4 separate regions of the Homo sapiens genome follow, and all the other regions are linked to region 1. Evidence: promoter capture Hi-C in 16 types of primary human blood cells and fetal thymus (Javierre and others, 2016). All regions are on one chromosome and are shown on one strand. Each heading gives the region's core, a stretch centred on a gene start or on the middle of the fragment in contact. The rest is flanking DNA. Distances are from core to core; before and after follow the strand shown. Region 1 holds the start of MRPL3 (mitochondrial ribosomal protein L3). Region 2 overlaps DNAJC13 (DnaJ heat shock protein family (Hsp40) member C13). Region 3 overlaps PIK3R4 (phosphoinositide-3-kinase regulatory subunit 4). Region 4 overlaps CPNE4 (copine 4).

Region 1 (4,617 bases), core at 1-2,500:
AAAAGAAAAAATAAATAAAACCAAACCACAATTTAAAAACTTCCTCCACTTAATATAGAAAAGGGAAGTCACAAATTGGAAAGTGTAGTCAGGGCCTTGGGAAAGGGCTTGGATTCTGTATACCTTTTTTTCAGGTCTCCAACCTTTTCCTCACTCCCCACATTCCTTCGGATAAGGCTCACATTTAAACTGTTAGTCGTTACCCTGGAGAAAAAAATTCATCTTCTCCTCGCAGATAAACATATTCCCCAAAAAACAGTCCTACCTATAGACATGAAAAGCCACTAACCCATTTGGAAGTGTACCTTAATAGTTTTACATTCAGTGGAGGTGGCAGAAGGTGGCATGTTGATCTTTGTCTAACAAGCTCACCTCCTCCCTGCAATGACATGGCCTAGGTTCAGAGAAGTGAAGAAACTGGGTGTGCAAAGTTAAAAGATCCACAAAAGGCATGACCTCTGAACAGGTGAACATACCAAGAAAGACCTTAGTGGGCGGAGGTCAGGAAGAAGGGGTGTAATTCTTGCATGGAGGGTCAGAACAGAAGTAAAGCTTTCTGCAGTCTACTCTCCTTTTGTAGTCAGATAAATTCAGGCTAGATTCCTAATTTTCCACTTATTAGTTGAGTGACTTTGGGCAAATTAACTCACCTCCCTAACCTTCAGTTTTATCTGTAAACCTTATGATAGCAGTTTGCTCCCGTGAGGCTACATAAGGCACCTAATACACTTAGCAGAGCGCTTAGTACCTGGCAAACGCTCACTAATTGTAAGATATGATTGCTGTTAATAGCGTTCGCTGCTAGTGGCTGGCTCATAAGCGTTTTTTAAAAATCACCACTTCAATCCCCTTAGAACGTGCTTCCTTAGGTTAACGGCCCTTATTCTTCTGTGTCCCACGTCTCAACAGAGCCCCTTCCTCCTCCACCCAGGGGAGGCCCAACTGCACCAGGCCATTCCACTGCTTCAGGACGCAACTGTGCAGGTAGGACACCCTCACACCTTCCTACCTGTTCCCCGGGCCCAGGGCAGCACCCAGGCCGTCCCCGAGTCGACCCAGCACCTGGGCGCCGACCTGCGTCAGCAGCCTCCAACCCGGCATGGATTAGCCCGGGAAGACTCGACTCACGACTTCCGGGCGCCCTGCCGCTCTGCTTTCAGGGAGTCCCCACGCCACCGCCACGTGGACGCAGTAGCCGTGGGGAAGTTTTCGCAATGGCCGCCGGAACGGTCGCCGGCCGATGCTCTCTGCGACGGAAAGAAAGCCGCCGGACCCACTTCCGGTGCGTTTTACAATGAACTCCGGGCACTCGAGTCGCTCCCCGGAAACTATAGTTCTGCTTCCACCGTTGTCCTACTTTGGATGTGAGTTGGAGTAGGTAGGGGTGGGAAGGGACTGACTCGCCTCTCCAGGGGTAAAATAAAAGGGATGTTCAGAGTTTAAACTTTAGAAGAATAAGGACAGACTTCCTGAGGACGCTAAGGAAAATGAAGACACTTCTAAATAGTGCCCGTTGTGAGGCAATGCATTATGCTAAGCAGCGCTTCATAATCCTATATTTGTTAATCATAAAAAACGGTCCTGAAAGGAAGTATTTATTTTTCTATTATAAATGAGGAAACTGACTCAGAATTTAGGTGCTGGTCCAAAACAACACATCTGGCAGAGGAGCAGAGTTGGCACTGAAACAGGGTTGGCATGTGTTATCAATAGACTACACCCATAGAAATGATGTATGCCTTCTAGGGCTGGATCATAAAACATATTGTTACTTCAGTTTTTGTCTCTTGGATTGCTCCCTGTGGAGAAAGCTAGCCTTCATTTCCTGCAGACACTCAAACAGCTCTGCAGGGAGGAACATATAAAGAGGAATCAACTAGCCAGTCATGACTGAGCCACCTAGGAAGTGGATCCACCAGTCCTCGGCTGCAACTCATGGAGACGTTAAGCCTGAATCTCCCAGCCAGGCCGCTCATGAATTACTGACTAGGAGAAATTGCCAGAGAAAATAAATGATTACCGTTTTTTTGAGTCATTAAGCTTTAGGGTAATTTGTTATGCAATAATAGATAGCTAATACACCTGCACAAAAAATCCCCTGTCTTGGGTTCCAGATCTAGCCTAATAACCATGTATGTGACTAGGACATTTATTCTTCTACTAATTCCCTTATTTGTCAGATTACTGTTTGTAGAAATTTGGAAATAAGAACTTTAAAGTGTAGCTATTTCAACCTTCTCTTTTTACTAGAGATCTGGCTATCTTGGTTTAACAGGTCCAGACAATGGTCAATTCCTGGCCATTACTTGGACTTTAGTGGGCTAAAAAATCTTTGCTTTGCTTGTCCATTCATTCCACTCATTGCTGTTGCAGTTACCTTAGACACTTTTCAATAATACTTTGGACCTTGAAGGAAAAACTACATCTCTTCATTCTAGCCATGCTGCCTGGCTTCCCAGATACTTAAGGATGGCTCTTCATTGAACAAACATGTTTTGAGGTGTGCTACATGCAAGAAGTTGAGAATAAGAAGATTTCTGTACTACTGCCAATAACTAACATTTCTTATCCATATAGTGTGCTAGAGTATGTGCTCAGCATTGTGGAAGCCCATAAGCCAAGGCTACTAGAAGAAAACGTGAACTCATACAAAGTCAAGTTTAATTAGCTTGATGCAGCAAAAGACAGCATATGTCTGAGGATGTTTCCAAAAGAGTGACCTGGGAGGGGCTTGAAATGAAATTTGGACTTAAGGCTGAGTGATTTTAAAGTGGCATCAGAGAAGCAGGAACTTGTTTTAGAATGGGTGCTGTCAAGAAGAAAGGACAGTTCAGCAATTGGATATCTTGATAGTCTTTGTTCTAGAGACAGGAAGAACAGAGAGGAAGTGGGCATGATGTTCATAAGAAAGCAGGAATCACTCAGAATAAGGAACTGTTAGTCATTTTGCTGCAGTGGTGTGGCCTACAGTACGGTCTGTAAGAAATATTGTAATGATGGGCTGGGCGTGGTGGCTCAGCACTTTGGGATGCCAAGGCGGGTGGATCACGAGGTCAGGAGATTGAGACCATCCTGGCTGACATGGTGAAACCCCTTCTCTACTAAAAATACAAAAAAAAATTAGCCGGGCGTAGTGGCGGGTGCCTGTAGTCCCAGCTACTCAGGAGGCTGAGGCAGGAGAATGGTGTGAACCTGGGAGGCGCAGCTTGCAGTGAGCGAGATTGAGCCACTGCACTCCAGCCTGGGTGACAGAGCAAGACTCCGTCTCAAAAAAAAAAAAAAGAAATATTGTATTGATGTTCTGCTATAAACACTGCAGTCCAGTTACTAATAGTATTCATTTTTACTCTCTCAGTGTATTTTCTCACTTGATTGTTATGACAATCTGCTGTGACAATAGTATAATTATCTGGATCTTACAGTTAAGAAAATAGGCATACAGAGATTACATAACTTAAATAAAATCACCCAGCTATTAACTGGTAGAGCCAAAGACTGTGACCATAGATAGAGCTTATGCTTTTAGACATTTTGTTTCTTTGGCTCTCTATGACAAATATGTCACTACTCTTGCCTTGGAATTTCTTTAAGGCTAAAGAGGAAAATCGGTAAGTAATCACACGCAGTGGTCAGTGAGGATTGAAGAGGTAGCCATTTGGTCTAACCTTTTCCCATAGTACCAAATATCTCCTAGTCCATAAGGAGGACCTTGACAGCAGGCACCACCGCTGAACTGAATCAAAGTAAAACATGGTTTGTCTGCTGTCGTAAAAAATGTGTCTCCTGATTGCCAGCCAGGGCTGAGTGGTGTCATACTTGATTTAGTCACTGTAATATGCTGCTGACAGCTACTAGGCCCAGTTGTCAAGGGACCCAGCCTAGGCTTTTCTAGGGCAGTCAGGCACTGACCTAGAGCTTCCTGTTATTTCTGATGTCATCCTTCAGACACTGCCTTAGACCCTGAAACTGTAATGCCATTTTGCCTCTCTAAGATTTCAATTCCTTATTGGAACGAAGATAACTTGCACTTTCTCTTTTTAGTGGTACAGTTCTATAACTCTTACTCCGCTAATTCAGACCAACAGATGATCTCATAAACCTTCTCTTATTAAATAAAACATTAGGAATAGATTCATTTTTGAATTACTAAAGCCATGTTCAATACAAGAGAATCATCATAGAAGGAGCAGATTTCAAAGCAAGAGTTCACTGGAAATAATCTTTTATATGTGTTCCTGCCATTAGGCTCTACCATTAGCTCTTATAATGTTTGTGATATATCCTGTATAGTTGGATTATTGCAAGATGGTAAATTTTGTGTTGGGTAATTTCCACTTTAGTATTCATTTATGCTGTCTCTTAGTTTATAACATACCTTATATTTGAAATTAGAAATCTTTTAAACAATGAGTTTGGATTTACTAAGTTATCCTTTTTTTTCTCCATTTTTCTCAAGTTGTGAGAATCTAGCATATTTTAAAATCAGTAAAGATGTTATGAAAGTGAGTCAAGCATTCAATGGGGATATAGATAAAATAAACTTTAAGAGATTTTTGAACTTTAAGATTTCATTGCTGGCTGAAATAGAAAATTTGAAAGGCTGTATTGCAAAATCCA
Region 2 (4,617 bases), core at 896-3,395, 920 kb after region 1:
AAATGTTGATGTCTACAGATTTGTCACATTGGTGACTCAAATACCACAATTGAGATTATTAGCATTGTCAGAAAAGAACAGGGTTAATAAAGTATAATCTCTTAATTTACATTGCAGCCACATTCCTGGAAAAATCTCTGTATATTAAACCCTGCAAAATGTACTTGGTGAGTTATATATAAAACAATTAGAGTCTGGGATTCATTCATTATAAATAGGTTTTTGCCTACATGACTAACCAACTAAGCATTTGGACTTCTGGACTTTTTTCTTTTTCCTTTTTTTTTTTCTTTTTTCAGACCTCACTCTGTTGCCCAGGCTGGAATGCAGTGACACGATCATAGCTCACTGTAGCCCTGATCTCCTGGGCTCAAGCGATCCTCCCACCTTAGCCTCCTTAGTATCTGGAGCCATAGGCACGCCATGCCCAGCTAACTTTTTTTTATTATTATTATTTTTAGTAGAGACGAGGTCTCACTATGTTGCCCAGGCTAGTCTCAAACTCCTGAGCTCAAGCAATCCTCCCACCTCAGCCTCTCAGAATGCTGGGATTACAGGTGTGAGCCACCATACCTGGCTCACTTGGACACTTGAAAGTCGTATGGTGTGGATGGTACTTATCTTTGGGACTGTAATGTATGTTGAATATCTAGTCTCATCCACTAAATGCTAGTAGTGCTCCCAGTCATAGTGCCTCAGATGGGATGGCATCCTAGCCCAACCATTACTTTAGTTCAAAATTTTAATCAGTGGTTTTCAACATATTTTTTCTGTTTCAGCAGTGTTCACATACCCAGCATATGCCAATTTATAACACTTCTTGTTATGTGGAGTGATTCTTAATCATAGGAACTCCTTTGAGAGTAACTGAGTTAGATTTCTTTGTAACAAATAGTTTAAACCAACATGGTTATGATCATCTTTGCTAATTTAAGATAGTTACCTGTGCAAAGGTACATTTAGGTGTGGTTCAGTCAATAAAACCATATAGCTTGCTAGTAATTCTTTTCAGATGCTCTTTATTCAATAGTCGACATATGGGAGTTTTACTTGTACTTTCATGGACTACTTGTGAAAAAGAGTGAGCTTTAAAGTCAGTGGAATTTTACAGTTTAAGCACTCAAGTTGCCCTTAGAAGAACACTGCCTAGTCACATATTTAGCACATGCCCAGTGGTAATATCTCTTTGCAATGGATTAATAAGAGTTTGATATTTTGATTATCAGATAGAAAACAAAACCCCTAAAGCAATCCAGAATTATTTTAGCTGGGTGCACAATAATCACACGTGTAATCCCAGCACTTGGAAGGCTGAGGCGGGAGGATCACTCGAGGCCAGGAGCTCCAACCTAGCTTGAGCAACCCCGTCTCATCAAAAAATGAAATAACTAGCTGGCTGTGGTGACGTGTGCTCGGGAGGCTGAGGCAGGAGGATTGCTTGAACCCAGGAGACTGAGATTACAGTGAGCTATGATTGTGTTGCTGCGTTTCAGTCTGGGTGACAAAGGAAGACCCTGTCTCTTAAAAAAAATTATTTCGACGCTTTGATTTTTGCCAGCTCTAGTTGCCACAACTTAATGGAAGGGTTGGTGAGGTTATGAATGGAGGAGATGTTCTCTAATATTTCATGTATTCTGTAATACATTTAAACGCTTATACATGGTGTTCTCACTTTTATTGTATTCCTTAGTCATCTAAGGCTATGGGGTTTCTCTCCTCAAACTTCTAGTCAAGCTACAGAATGTATTTTGAATGTTTATCAAATCTTAGAGCAGATAAGCCATTTTCCCCCCAAATCTTAGCACTAATGGGCTTAATTTTAAAAGTGAAACTTTGCTTTTTTAAGATAATTTGGTAGTGTTCTATAAACTGTAAAGCGCCACAGAAGAGGTAGGAATAATAGGGATATTTCAGAACTAAACTAGAAATGTATGTTTTTGCTATTTTGTATTGAGTGAAGGGGAAATTGTAGCAAATTAAACTTTTGTCTTTTAATAGTATAAAAAGAACAGTGTTTGGGTTTTCAGGATGCTTTCTGTAAAACTGTCTTCAAGTTGTATGTGTTAAAAGCTTAGGAAATTTAGTCCCGCATTATGCATTTACTGTAATGATAGGAAAAACAGCAACAAGTTAAAATATGGCTGCTAAAAATTTCTTTTGCCCATTTCAGGGCCTGTTTACCATAGTAGAGCATGATTATTAAGTGCCTTAATAAGCTGATAAGCTTAATAAGTTGATAAGCTGAAGACCTTACAGAAATAGTATAGTTTGTTCTTGCATAAGCCAGGTTATGCTTCAAAGATAAAATGAAATAGAAATTAGGTCTATAAAGTTACAATAATGTGTATAAACTAAAAATATGTAAATGATCAATAGCAATGATTTCAAAGCATTGCTTAAGTGAACATGTTTCTGGAAAGAAAGCTTTCAGGTGAGTATTTTAAGGCATTTTTAAGCTTTGGAAAGGGAAGGGTCATAGTAATACATCTTTCACAGAAAATTTGAATTTTTTTAACAACAGATAAACTTCTGTTTTGTCAGAAATACAAATTATTCCCCTCAGATGAAATGAGCATACATGTGATAGAAATAGAAGAGACAGGTCTCTTTTCAATACTTGATTTATACTGTTGAATAGAAGAGGTCAAAAAAAGTAACTGCTATGGTAAGTATGCTTGTCCCCTCCTCCCATTAAGTGTTTCTTCAGATTTAGGGGTTGCTTTTGAATTTTTCTTGCCCTGTATTTCATTAATATATACTCAGTTTGTAATAGAAAGGAATCAAGTTTTTAAAAACAATGGTGGAGATCTCATATTATTTCAGCTACCCTATGGTAGTGAAACTAGTTAAAAGTTGATTATGATGTGACAGTACAATCACTTCACTTTAAAATATCTGGGCAATTATTTGAAGATATGATTATCAGATGAAATTTGATATTACCGCTGGCTTTTTTTATTCTTCAACGACATCTATCTCTGGAGGTATCGGGTTCTTCAGTAAGTTAAGGAAGGCTAAGATGGTAGGTACTAAAATCTTTGTGATGTATTTATGGTTTGTTTTAAGATTCCTGTTGGTATCATACATATTACACATACTGATTTGTTGTTCATTTAGAAGAAAATGCTTTTACCTGTACTTGAGTCATATATTAAAATGAAGCTAAAATTTAAAAATAGGGTTAAAGTTCATATGGCAGTTTCCCCCATACACAGCACATTCTATCTAAACAGTTTAGTTGTAGCTATTTAATCTGGGTAAAAATGAACATTCTGTTAGCCATTCATATTTTTTACCATTTGTTTGAAACCAAACTAATCTAGTGCTATGATTTACTCAGATTTTGAATCCAGTTACAAACAAACCTAGATCCTCAAGAAGCCAATATAAGATATTCTATCTATTACTCTTATTAGTTATTTTTTCAAAGGGTTAGTCTTTCCATGGTTCTCCTTACTACCCCTCCCTTTTTGGTAAGATATAGCTGTAGGAAGTATTACGTTCATAAATTAGTTCCTATGATGTGAATGTCTGCTACATTTTAAGTGTGGTTTTGGAATGTAGCATTGTTTCTGTTGTAGGAGAGTTTGATCAGAAAAGGCAAACTCCACAATTTTCACCCAACATATTGTAAACATTTTCACCTACAGCCAGGTTGAAAGAACTTTACATTAGATACCCACATGCCCACCTAAAGGTTTTTACATTAACATTTTACTGTACTTGCTTTATCACAGATCTGTCCATCTTTCCATCAATCCATCTTATTTTTTATGCATTTCAAAACAAATTCACATTTTTAGTTATTGAGGGCAGAGCTAATGAAAGTAAGTTCCGTTCTTGCATTTTACAGACTCAAAATGGGAAAATCAGTAGCTTACCTGTTCTCTGCAAGTTGTCATATTTGTGTAAAAATTACTTCCAGTTGATGATGCTAAATACGTGCTTTAAACAGGTGACTAGCCTGATTAATGCCAATCCTTCTTTCACTAGTGTATTTTTTTCTAAGTGTATTCATTCATCCCTAGTTAAATGAGTGTTCTGCTTGTGTTTTTGCTTAACACAAGCCATGTGTATATACTTAATTTTGCTGTGTGTGTAAATTTTTTTGCTTATAGCTTGACCGTAATTGGCTTGAGTGTCTGTGGTGTTGAGTCCCTTCATCTTGCTTTTGTTCTTAGTGTCAACTTGATGTAGGCTTCTTCTCACTGGACTCCCAAATCCTGTGGTTTTCTGTCAAAATTATGTGTCTTCTAAAAGATCATTCTCATTTTAACCATAAATGATCTTAAATGGTTTGCCAGTATTACTGCCAGTAATAAATTAGAGAATGCAAGAATATTGTGTTGTTCGAAAGCATGATGCAGTAGTATTCATTGAGAGAGGTGAATCTAGCCAAAATGCCTGTGTTGCCCTGAATTTGACTTTTTAACCCATAGGACAGTTCTATAAAAAGAACAAACAGAAGTTTCTTTGGTGGTGTAATTTAGGATATAGCATGAAAACAAGTGAAGCTGACTCGCAAAAATTGGAGATGCTTTCAATGCAATTTAATTACAAAAGGCATGTAAATTTGATTTTTCCTCATCAGAAAGAATCATGGGTCTTTGAGAATTT
Region 3 (4,617 bases), core at 1,476-3,975, 770 kb before region 1:
AAATAATAAAATTTGGAAGTAATATAATATATACATAGCACTTACGCCAGGCACTATTACATATATTAATTCATTCTATCCCCCAACAACCAGTAAGACAGGCACTATTCTTATTTCCATTTTACAGATAGGTAAACTAAGCCACAAAAAAATTAAATGATTTTCCAAGAACCACAACTAGTGACAAAGTGAACACCTGAACCCAACAGTATAGCTCCACAATGCCTGCTCTTAACGATCAGCATATGACAGAAAGGGATAAATGGGATGGAAAGAGAAGAGGAATAGCTATGGGAAAAAACATCAAAGCTTTAACAGACATTGTACATGGGTTGTAGGATTAATGGTCATTTATTTTCTTCTGGTTTCCGTATTTTCCAAATTTTTCTAAGTTTTATTTCCAAAAGTAATATAAGCATATTTATTTTTTATAAATAAAAAATTTATTTTTAAATTAAGACAAACTAATATGTGTTTCAAAGAACACATGAATTGACCAATAGATAGGGGAAGTTTTAAGAACCGACTTTTCCCGAGAAAAGAAATAAATATAACATTATTTGGAAGAAGAAGAGAGCAAGCAAGACAAAAAGATGTAAGAATCAAAGAATACTGTATTCAGGAACTGAGTTAGATGAAGTCCTAGATGGAAGGCTAAGATGCATCTATAAATTAATGCAAAAATAAAAAACAAAAGATGTCTGAAAAGAAAAAAACAGGTACAGTAATTTCCAAAAATAACCGGGAATTTGAAAGTTTTTCAAAGTAGAAAGTACCCTTTCCTCCAAAACATATGATAGCATTTGCAGAAATATCAATCCTGTTGCCACATAGGTTTCTTGCATTTTATTTTTTTAGCAAACAAAAATCAAACAGCAAACCTTTCCTAGATTATTGGGAACCAAAACTTAAAGTCTTTTTTTTTTTTTTGAGACGGAGTCTCGCTCTTTCACCCAGGCCTGACTGCAGTGGCGCAATCTCAGCTCACTGCAAGCTCCGCCTCCTGGGTTCACGCCATTCTCCTGCCTCAGCCCCCCTCCCGCCGCCTCCGAGTACAGGCACCCGCCACCGCGCCCGGCTGATTTTTTGTATTTTTAGTAGAGACGGGGTTTCACCGTGTTAGCCAGGATGGTCTCGATCTCCTAACCTCGTGATCCGCCCGCCTCGGCCTCCCAAAGTGCTGGGATTACAGGCGTGAGCCACGGCGCCCGGCCCTTAAAGTCTTACAGCTTCTGCTGCCTCACAAGAAAGTCTGGACACAGCCAAGCTTTCTATTGTGCAGAATAGTCTTTAAACTTTTCGGGTTAACAGATAAACTGTTACAACTATGTGGGAAATGATATAATAGGGGGTAGTGGATAATCATAATAATATGAATTTAGCATATATTTCATAATTGGCCAAATCTTAAACTGAAAAGATCAGTACATTCAGGGAAAAGGGGATCAGTTATTATTCAAAAGAGAAAAATATTAAATCCTGTATCAAACATGACTTAACCCATGCAAAATACTGTCCACTTCATTTACTTCTAATTCTGAATACAAATGTAATATAAGTCATGCATATAAAACACAAGATGTCTGACTTTAGATATATCTAAAAATCAAGAATTGTAAAATGAAAGAACAGCAAAAAAAAAATGCTGCTTAAATTTTCACAAATTTTCAGTTACACAAAGCCTTTAACTTAATTCTTTCCAACTACATTGATTTTCAACCATGATTATATTTTAACTTATTTTCTGATTCTAAAAGTGATGCATGTTCACTTTTATTAACATGTTTATAAACATATATGATTTCTGTTATTGTTACCTTTACACTACAGCAATCATTCTTTAAGAGGATTTACAACCTACTTATGTCACTTTAACATACTTCATGGTACTTTCCAGGTCATTATTCTGTCTAAATATAGTTAATGACCACACGGTATTCCTTCATACGGATGTAACACAGGTTGATATACCAACCCTTTATTTTAACCAAGCCAAAATACTTACATCATCCAAAAGCAGCATGAAGACAGAAATACTAGGAATTCATTTCATTATTAATGAAATTTGGTAGTATCATCTATCCTTCAGATTGCATGGAAGTATTTGAGAGGATGATTAAAAATCTTAAAGGAATTTAAAAGCAAAAAACATACCAACTATACTATCAAAAAATGCTCCACGTAGATGCCAATCATTCTTATCATTTAGGAAAGTAATCATGTGGGACAACAAAACATCGTTGGCTTTCTGACGTCCAAAGAATACACACAGCCGTGTTATTCCATTTTCCATCAAGGTTTGTTTTACAATATTTTCAGGGTCACTTAGCAAAGTAACAACTTTCTGCTGGACCATTTCATGTAAGGCTTGGAGCTCTAAAAAAAAAAAAAAAAGAAAGAAAGAAAGAAAGAAAAGAAATAGTTAAGAAAAGATCAATTTTTCCCCATACAGATAGTCCCAGTCTTCTTTCTTACTCATCAGAGAGACTGATTACAGAATCCACCGAAGACTTTAATCACCAATTTTTTGCATTATTCAAAGCTCTGAAGGATGGGAAACTGAAATATAAAGTGAAGAATATCCTAACAAGCAGATGCCACAAACATAGTTACTATCTCACTAATCAAATAGTTTCATTTATTAGCTCAAGGAGAAAATTATAGAGAAGCACCAGAAAGGAAATCACATTGCCCCAGTAAGATCCCAGTTAATCAAGGACTTGAAAATAATGGAATAGGATTAGGATATAATATGATGGTACTGAGCAATCCTTTTAGAAAATGTTTTTAAAGGTCAGTTTATTTTAGAAAGCCAGAAAACACACTGCAAGTTCTGTCAAGGCTTTACTTCATCTGGCCACTGTCTTCTCTGGTCTTACCTCTTCTCTTCCTCATCCTCACTTTTTCTCACTTATTTATTTACTTAGCTGCCTGTCTTCTTTTTACTAAAATGTAAGCTCAAGAGCAAGGATCGTTTCTATCGTATTCACCACCATGCTCTAGTGCTTAGGGCAGGCTCCTAATTGCCTGATGCAGAGCTAATCTTTAACAATTATCTGTGAATAAACAGAAGACAGGGGCCACTCTTGGTCCAGCTACTACTGTCAAGGAAAAAGGTAACTGGTCTGACATGCAAAACTATATGCTCACATTAAGAAAAACTTTAGATTCCCTCCCCAAAAATTTTACCATTTAACTTTATTATCTCAACAGGTCCAATTACATGGTTATAGGACAGTATTATTTTCCAAGTAATTCCATAAAAAAAGGCTAGGACTTCCTGATACATCCTCCTATAACTTCAAAATTATTCCACTGTATTCAACTCTAGATAATACATGTTGTCTAAAAATGGTGCCATTCTAACAAGTAACAATTGTAGTTGTTTGCAGCATAAAATTCTAAAAAACTAGATTTCTCTAGTTTTTCACAACTAGAAGCATCTTGGAGAAAATTACATCTATTACTTTACTTCTAAATCTTTTACTCAACAAACATTAAGTAAAAATCTGTAAAGAGTTGTATAACACAAAGAAACCTAAGACAAGGACTTTGACATCAATAAGTTTACCATCATCACATCTGTTCCTTTATGGTTTTTTGTAAATAACAAATAGTATGAAATAAAAACAATTTATGATTGAGGATACTCAGAATATACTCACGTAAGGAGAAAAGGTTTAGCTTCTTTAGCTATGATGTTTCTAATTTTTTCTTTTATGAGAATTATATAATTCAGCCAGCTTTACTGTTCACACAAATCAATTCTGGCTGACAAACAATTGACTTTAGTATCCATGGTGACAAGCTGATTATTTTTGAGCAAGATAACAGTATATGAGGATAGAGAGAATAATTAGACACCAGGGACTCTTCCTATCTAATATATAGATCTGGTATTCCTTCACCTTACATGAAAACTACAAATGATAGTTTTACAAGTTAGCATCAGCAATTCATTCTAAATAACAGGAAATCTGGAAGAGAAAATTATACAACCTGTGTCATAATTTCCATTTGGATGTGTAACCTCATCTATTTCTTCATTATTGGGGTCATTTTCCATATTAAGATTTTTTAACTGTACTAATTCCAGGAATCTCAGAGCTGTTTCTGCCAGCAGAGCTATGTTTTCTATAAAATAAAAAGGAAGAAAATTTATAATTACAATCTTAACTCTCTGTAAAGCTTATTAACTTTTCCTCCCTGTCTTTATACATAAATAATCATAAGCCTATGGGAAAAACAGAACTTTTCAATTTAGCATTTAACTTAATCAGATTTTAGTAACCCAGCTCATAATCTGTAACTGTCTCCAAACCACTAGTCTTATTTTTGAAACACAGCTTAAAAAAATAATAATATAAAAATAATCTAATACCTCATCTACTGAGGACCAAAAAAAAAAAAAAGCCTAATTCTCTGCAGGGACTTACCTTTTAAACAGTATCCTTGACAAGTGAGAGATATTTATTAGACTAACAAAGAAACATCCACATTAAAATAACAGATAAAGCTAAGCTTTGGCATCAGAAAGACCTGGGTTCAAATCTCAACCTTGCCACTTACTAACTTGACCATTTAAGCAATCTGAGACTGTTTCTTCACATATAAATG
Region 4 (4,617 bases), core at 1,204-3,703, 520 kb after region 1:
TTCAAGAGATTCTCCTGCCTCAGCCACCTGAGTAGCTGGAATTACAGGCACACACCACCACGCCGGGCTAATTTTTGTATTTTTAGTAGAGATGGGGTTTCACCATGTTGGCCAGGCTAGTCTCGAACTCCTGACCTCAAGTGATCTGCCCACCTTGACCTCCCAAAGTGTTGGGATTACAGGTGTGAGCCATTGCGCCCAGCCCTGGGGTCTTCAATAGTTATTAAGAGTGTAAAGCACCCTGTGGATCAAAAGTTTGAGCACCTATGTTTTAGTGGAAGGACTGTACATTTTGGAGCAAAATGGTTTTTAAGGGTTTTATTTGTCTCCTCTGTCTCCCACTTGCTGTGTAATCACAGCCAATTTACTTGGCCTCTCTGGTCTTCCATTTTTTATATATCAGGCTAATCACCCTTATAATTATTTGCTCAAGCATGTCTTCCTTGCTGAAATATAATATCCAGAAGGTCAGGATTATGTCTGTTTCGTTCATCCCACATTACCAAAGTCTAGTACAGCACATTACATGATACATGATAGGGTCTCAATAAATAATCATAAATTGATTGACAGGGTGGCTGTGAGTCTTAAATAGAATAATGTGTATAAAGTGCCCCATGAGGTACCTGGCAGATGGCAAATGTCATAGGTGCTCAGTAAATGCCAGATCCCTTTCTTTACCACTAATGCTGTTCTCAGTGGTACCACACAGGAGACAAAATTCATGGCTTGTCTACATAAAGTAAATATTTAAGGCACTGGTTCCCAAAGTGTGGTGTCCAAACTAGTAGCATCAGTATCACCTTTAGAAGTTGTTAGAAATCAAATTATTTTACTCCTACCCTAGACCCACTGAGTTAGAAATTCCACAGGAAGGGCCCATCACTTCGGGTTTTAACAAGCCCTCCAGGAGATTCGGAGATTCTGACTCATCCTCAAGTTTGAGAACCATGGCTTGAAGATAATATTTTATGCCAGTAACATTTTAGACTTTCGTAACAGAGAGATACCCAATATGTTGTCTAATGCTGGCAGCCTAAGATCCTTTTGGGACAAGGGCAGGGGAAACAAAGTCAAATACAATAAATTTCTGCTGCTGGTCTTGTAGGGTGGAATGATTGATTTTGTATTCTGGTTGTGTTCCTGGGGCCAGTACTAAACGTACCTTTCATTTGAAATAAAGCTGGAACCATTAGAAACAGAGGAAGTTTTATCTTAGAGAAACTCCAGCATAACGCTTGAGTCACCTTTTGTGGCTGGGCATAAAATTTGTGAGTAGGAACAGAGAGAGAGGAGAGGAGGAAAGGGAGAAGAAGGGTAAATGATTCAGTAGCTATGAAAAGCATACATTTTGTTGCTGATATCTACCATACCTTCATAAACACACTTCTAATTTTCACAATTCCCCTGCAACACAGCAAACCATTACCATTAGGGTAATTAACTACTAATAAGCCTCTAGTTTGTGAGAGATGCCACCAGCAAATAAAGGTTGCAATTTGAGTAATTTCCAAGTGACAGCAAGCTTCACAGCCATCCTATAACATAGACACAATCATTATTCTCATTCTATATCTATGAAAACTGAGCTTCAACAGGTTAAGCAGAGCTGAAATTCAAACCTAGGAATTCCTGACTTAAAATTTATGCCATTCACCAATACACAATCTTACCTACCTACATACAACACACAGAATAGTCTTGCAAATATAGTGGAGCACATTTGAGGTGAGGACTGTGATTTAAAGTCAATGCGTAAAGTACAACACACACGTAGTCAAAATAATCCTTGAAAAATATTATAAATTTTTCATGAAGTACAATATATGTTGTATTACAGATACAACTATGTGCAGTAGTAATATGTCATACAACTTCATATATCAATTTGGATGATATGATAAAGTCAATAATCAAAATATAATAAGAATATTTTTAATAAATGAGAGCAGGCGTAGAATAGATTTTGAGTAAGTTAAAAGCATGCTTTGCCTGGATGCAGGATATTTGCTAAGGGAATGGAGATGCACCCAGAGTGACAGAGGGAGTATCCTATGTGCCAAAAAAGTTCTAGGTTCTCTGGAGTCATATCAAGAAGTGTGATATACAACTGCTACTTGGAAAAGCTTGCAACATGCTACAGACATGGTCATATCTATGAATAACCATGTTACAAGGCACACAATGCAGGGGCTGAAGCATAGCCAGGCCAGGAGAGGGTATGGTAAAGAGAATTAACTTCAACTTGGAGAATCCAAGCCCAAGAAGCAAAGATCTTATGAAGCATGGACTGGATAAATGTGCCCTGGTCTGAATTGGAATAGGGATACCCTAAATTTCATTCCTCTTCCTCCCAGTTGCCAGTGCTTTGACAACTGACCAAATTATTTATAAAACAGTACTATTAATATCTAACCCACAGAATATACACTTCTAGTGACTGTGTATGTATTTATATTTATATAATTAAATAATTTTATTTTTCTGCAAGATAAATGCATATTATCTGAAATAAATTAACATTACTTTTTAAAAGAAGTACTATATCCCACTTTAAATCTTCTCAGGATGGATGGAGAGCAAGGTTGGGAAAGTAGGAAAAAAACATTGAGTGCATACATACAGTGAGTCAAGGCCTCTCTTCTGCCTTATAGCCTTATATATATGGTTTAATCTCCATTTTTACAAATGAGGAAATAGGGACAGGTTTAGTAATTTCCCCAAAGCAAAACAGCTATTAAGTGCCAGAGCCAGCGTTCAAACTAAGTATGCTTACTTTTAAAGCTTAAGCCCTTATCATAACAAAACTTAACACATATTTGTCTTTATCAAACTGCATTGCAACCCTGTGATTTCTTGGCACATTTCCTGATATGAGTGAGGAAGAAAGAAACAGCTTATTTCATTCAGTCAACCAAAAGTTTTTGAGCAACTACTAGGTACCTAGCACTGTTTGGGGTTCAGTTGTGAGCAAGACAGAGAGAGTTCTGACCCCCTGAAGCATGAAGTGGAGAGGAGAGAGGAGTGTGGTGTGGCATGGGCCAGAGAAGAACCCCAGGCCCAGGAGTGAAGAAGCCTTTATTCTCACTGCTGTAACTAGGCCACCAACGAGCTTGAGCAAGTCACTTCACCTTGCTGAGTCTCTTTTTTCTTATCTGGAAAATGGGAGGGGTGTGCATAATTTTATGGGATTGCCAAGTTCTCACATTCTCTTATTCCATAAGAGGCATTTATTTTCCCATCTTTTTAAAATTAAATCAGGTTAGGAGCTATCATGAGTGTTATTAGTTGCCAAAAAATCAACTATTTCCACTCTTTTCCTCTTATCGTGCCTTTTCTCCAATACAATTCACAATCAGTCAAGTCACAGGACGTAAAGGCCACCAAGCAAAAGAAATCTGACAATGGCTTCTCGGGAGCTCTGCAGTCTACCTGGCCAGATAACGTTAACACACATGATCAAAGGTGTCCATCCCTAGTTTCACATTAGCACAATGTCAGGTGCAAAACTCCTTGACTTTTGCCACTGAAATTTATATCTCTGAGTTACCTGTTGAATCAACTGCTCCGAAGATAACAAAGACATCACCTCAGTCATCTTGCAATGCTAGTGGCTACTAACATCTTAAAAGCCTTCTTTGTCTTTAATGATAATGATAAAGTATTGTTTTGGGCCATTCTATTGCCCTTATTATTTTTCATTTTTATGGATATTTGTATGAAATACACCTTTCAATATTTTTAAAACAGAGTTCTTATTTAGATTGTTTCAGACCCATCACTTAATGGTAAAGGTTCTTGGTTATATTTCTATTACATTTCCTTCCAAATCATTTTCTGTTTAAATGAATTAAGTCAATGATTTAGGCATTTACTTCATGATATTGATGAAATTACTACATACAGGGCATGGTGCAAGTTGATTAGATTTTAGAATCTCTATTAGCGCTGTTAAGAATACATACAAACCAAAGTGCCTGCTGAATGAGATGCCACCCCCTCCACTTCTCCCTCAAAATTACCTTCTGTCCACCTGTTTCCTTGAAATACAGGGAGAGGAAAAACACCTTAGTATAACAGGACTTGTAAAGGACCACTTCCCAGGTCCTTTGAGACAAACCAAATATCTCCTTCTTTATCTCTTACCTAGCATCATTTGTTCATCTTTCTCCTCACACTTAACAGCACAATTTCAATGTTTCTTTTCACCAGTCTGCCTGTGCCTCAAGTTTTTATGTTTATCCCCAGTGCCTAGCACAGCTTTTGACATAAATGCTGTGACCAATTATTATTCAACAGATAGATGAATGAGACCCTTCTGCTGAGGGGGAAGGGGTAAGAGATGGGGGAAGGGATAAGAGATGGGAGAAGAGGCCCATTTAAAAATAAAATGGTGATAGCAAATAACAATCACAGTGAACCTGTGTTAAGCTCCTATTGTGTGCCAAGCATTGTATATATTATTGCTAACCTTTAACAAAAAGGAAAAATGGCGAAAGTAATTTTATTTTCTCTTCTTATAGATCTGCACTGTTTCAATAGGGTAGCCACTACCCACATAGGAGCATTAAGCACTTAAAATGTGGCAAATCTGAATTAAAATGTGCTGTAAGTATA

What was found. The method cuts DNA at HindIII sites, captures the fragments that hold promoters and counts their contacts. A CHiCAGO score of 5 or more calls a contact.
Region 2: a fragment that was not itself captured here is called in contact with the fragment with the promoter of MRPL3 in region 1 in 2 of 17 cell types (total CD8 T cells and activated CD4 T cells); the score reaches 5.0 in total CD8 T cells.
Region 3: a contact is called between a fragment that was not itself captured here and the fragment with the promoter of MRPL3 in region 1, in 4 of 17 cell types (non-activated CD4 T cells, total CD4 T cells, total CD8 T cells and 1 more). The highest score is 9.1, in non-activated CD4 T cells.
Region 4: a contact is called between a fragment that was not itself captured here and the fragment with the promoter of MRPL3 in region 1, in 2 of 17 cell types (megakaryocytes and erythroblasts). The highest score is 7.9, in megakaryocytes.

Annotation. Positions count from the first base shown.
Region 1 is chr3:131,501,721-131,506,337 of GRCh38, forward strand. MRPL3 (mitochondrial ribosomal protein L3) reads right to left here and starts at 1,251. Exons shown (of 10, transcript NM_007208.4): 1 at 1,010-1,251. The coding sequence starts at 1,101. It overlaps LOC105374114 (a long non-coding RNA gene), which reads left to right and starts at 879. Exons shown (of 3, transcript NR_189111.1): 1 at 879-984. RefSeq lists enhancers at 887-1,573, 1,080-1,149. The HindIII fragment of the contact is 1,488 bases long and covers 551-2,038 here.
Region 2 is chr3:132,421,758-132,426,374 of GRCh38, forward strand. All of the region lies in intron 1 of DNAJC13 (DnaJ heat shock protein family (Hsp40) member C13), which reads left to right. Among named protein-coding and RNA genes, the nearest start is that of DNAJC13, 6.6 kb to the left of the region's middle. The HindIII fragment of the contact is 154 bases long and covers 2,069-2,222 here.
Region 3 is chr3:130,726,309-130,730,925 of GRCh38, forward strand. PIK3R4 (phosphoinositide-3-kinase regulatory subunit 4) reads right to left here. Exons shown (of 20, transcript NM_014602.3): 5 at 4,000-4,134; 6 at 2,155-2,376. Among named protein-coding and RNA genes, the nearest start is that of PIK3R4, 18 kb to the right of the region's middle. The HindIII fragment of the contact is 2,921 bases long and covers 1,266-4,186 here.
Region 4 is chr3:132,024,180-132,028,796 of GRCh38, forward strand. The region is part of intron 1 of CPNE4 (copine 4); the gene reads right to left. Among named protein-coding and RNA genes, the nearest start is that of CPNE4, 8.5 kb to the right of the region's middle. The HindIII fragment of the contact is 658 bases long and covers 2,125-2,782 here.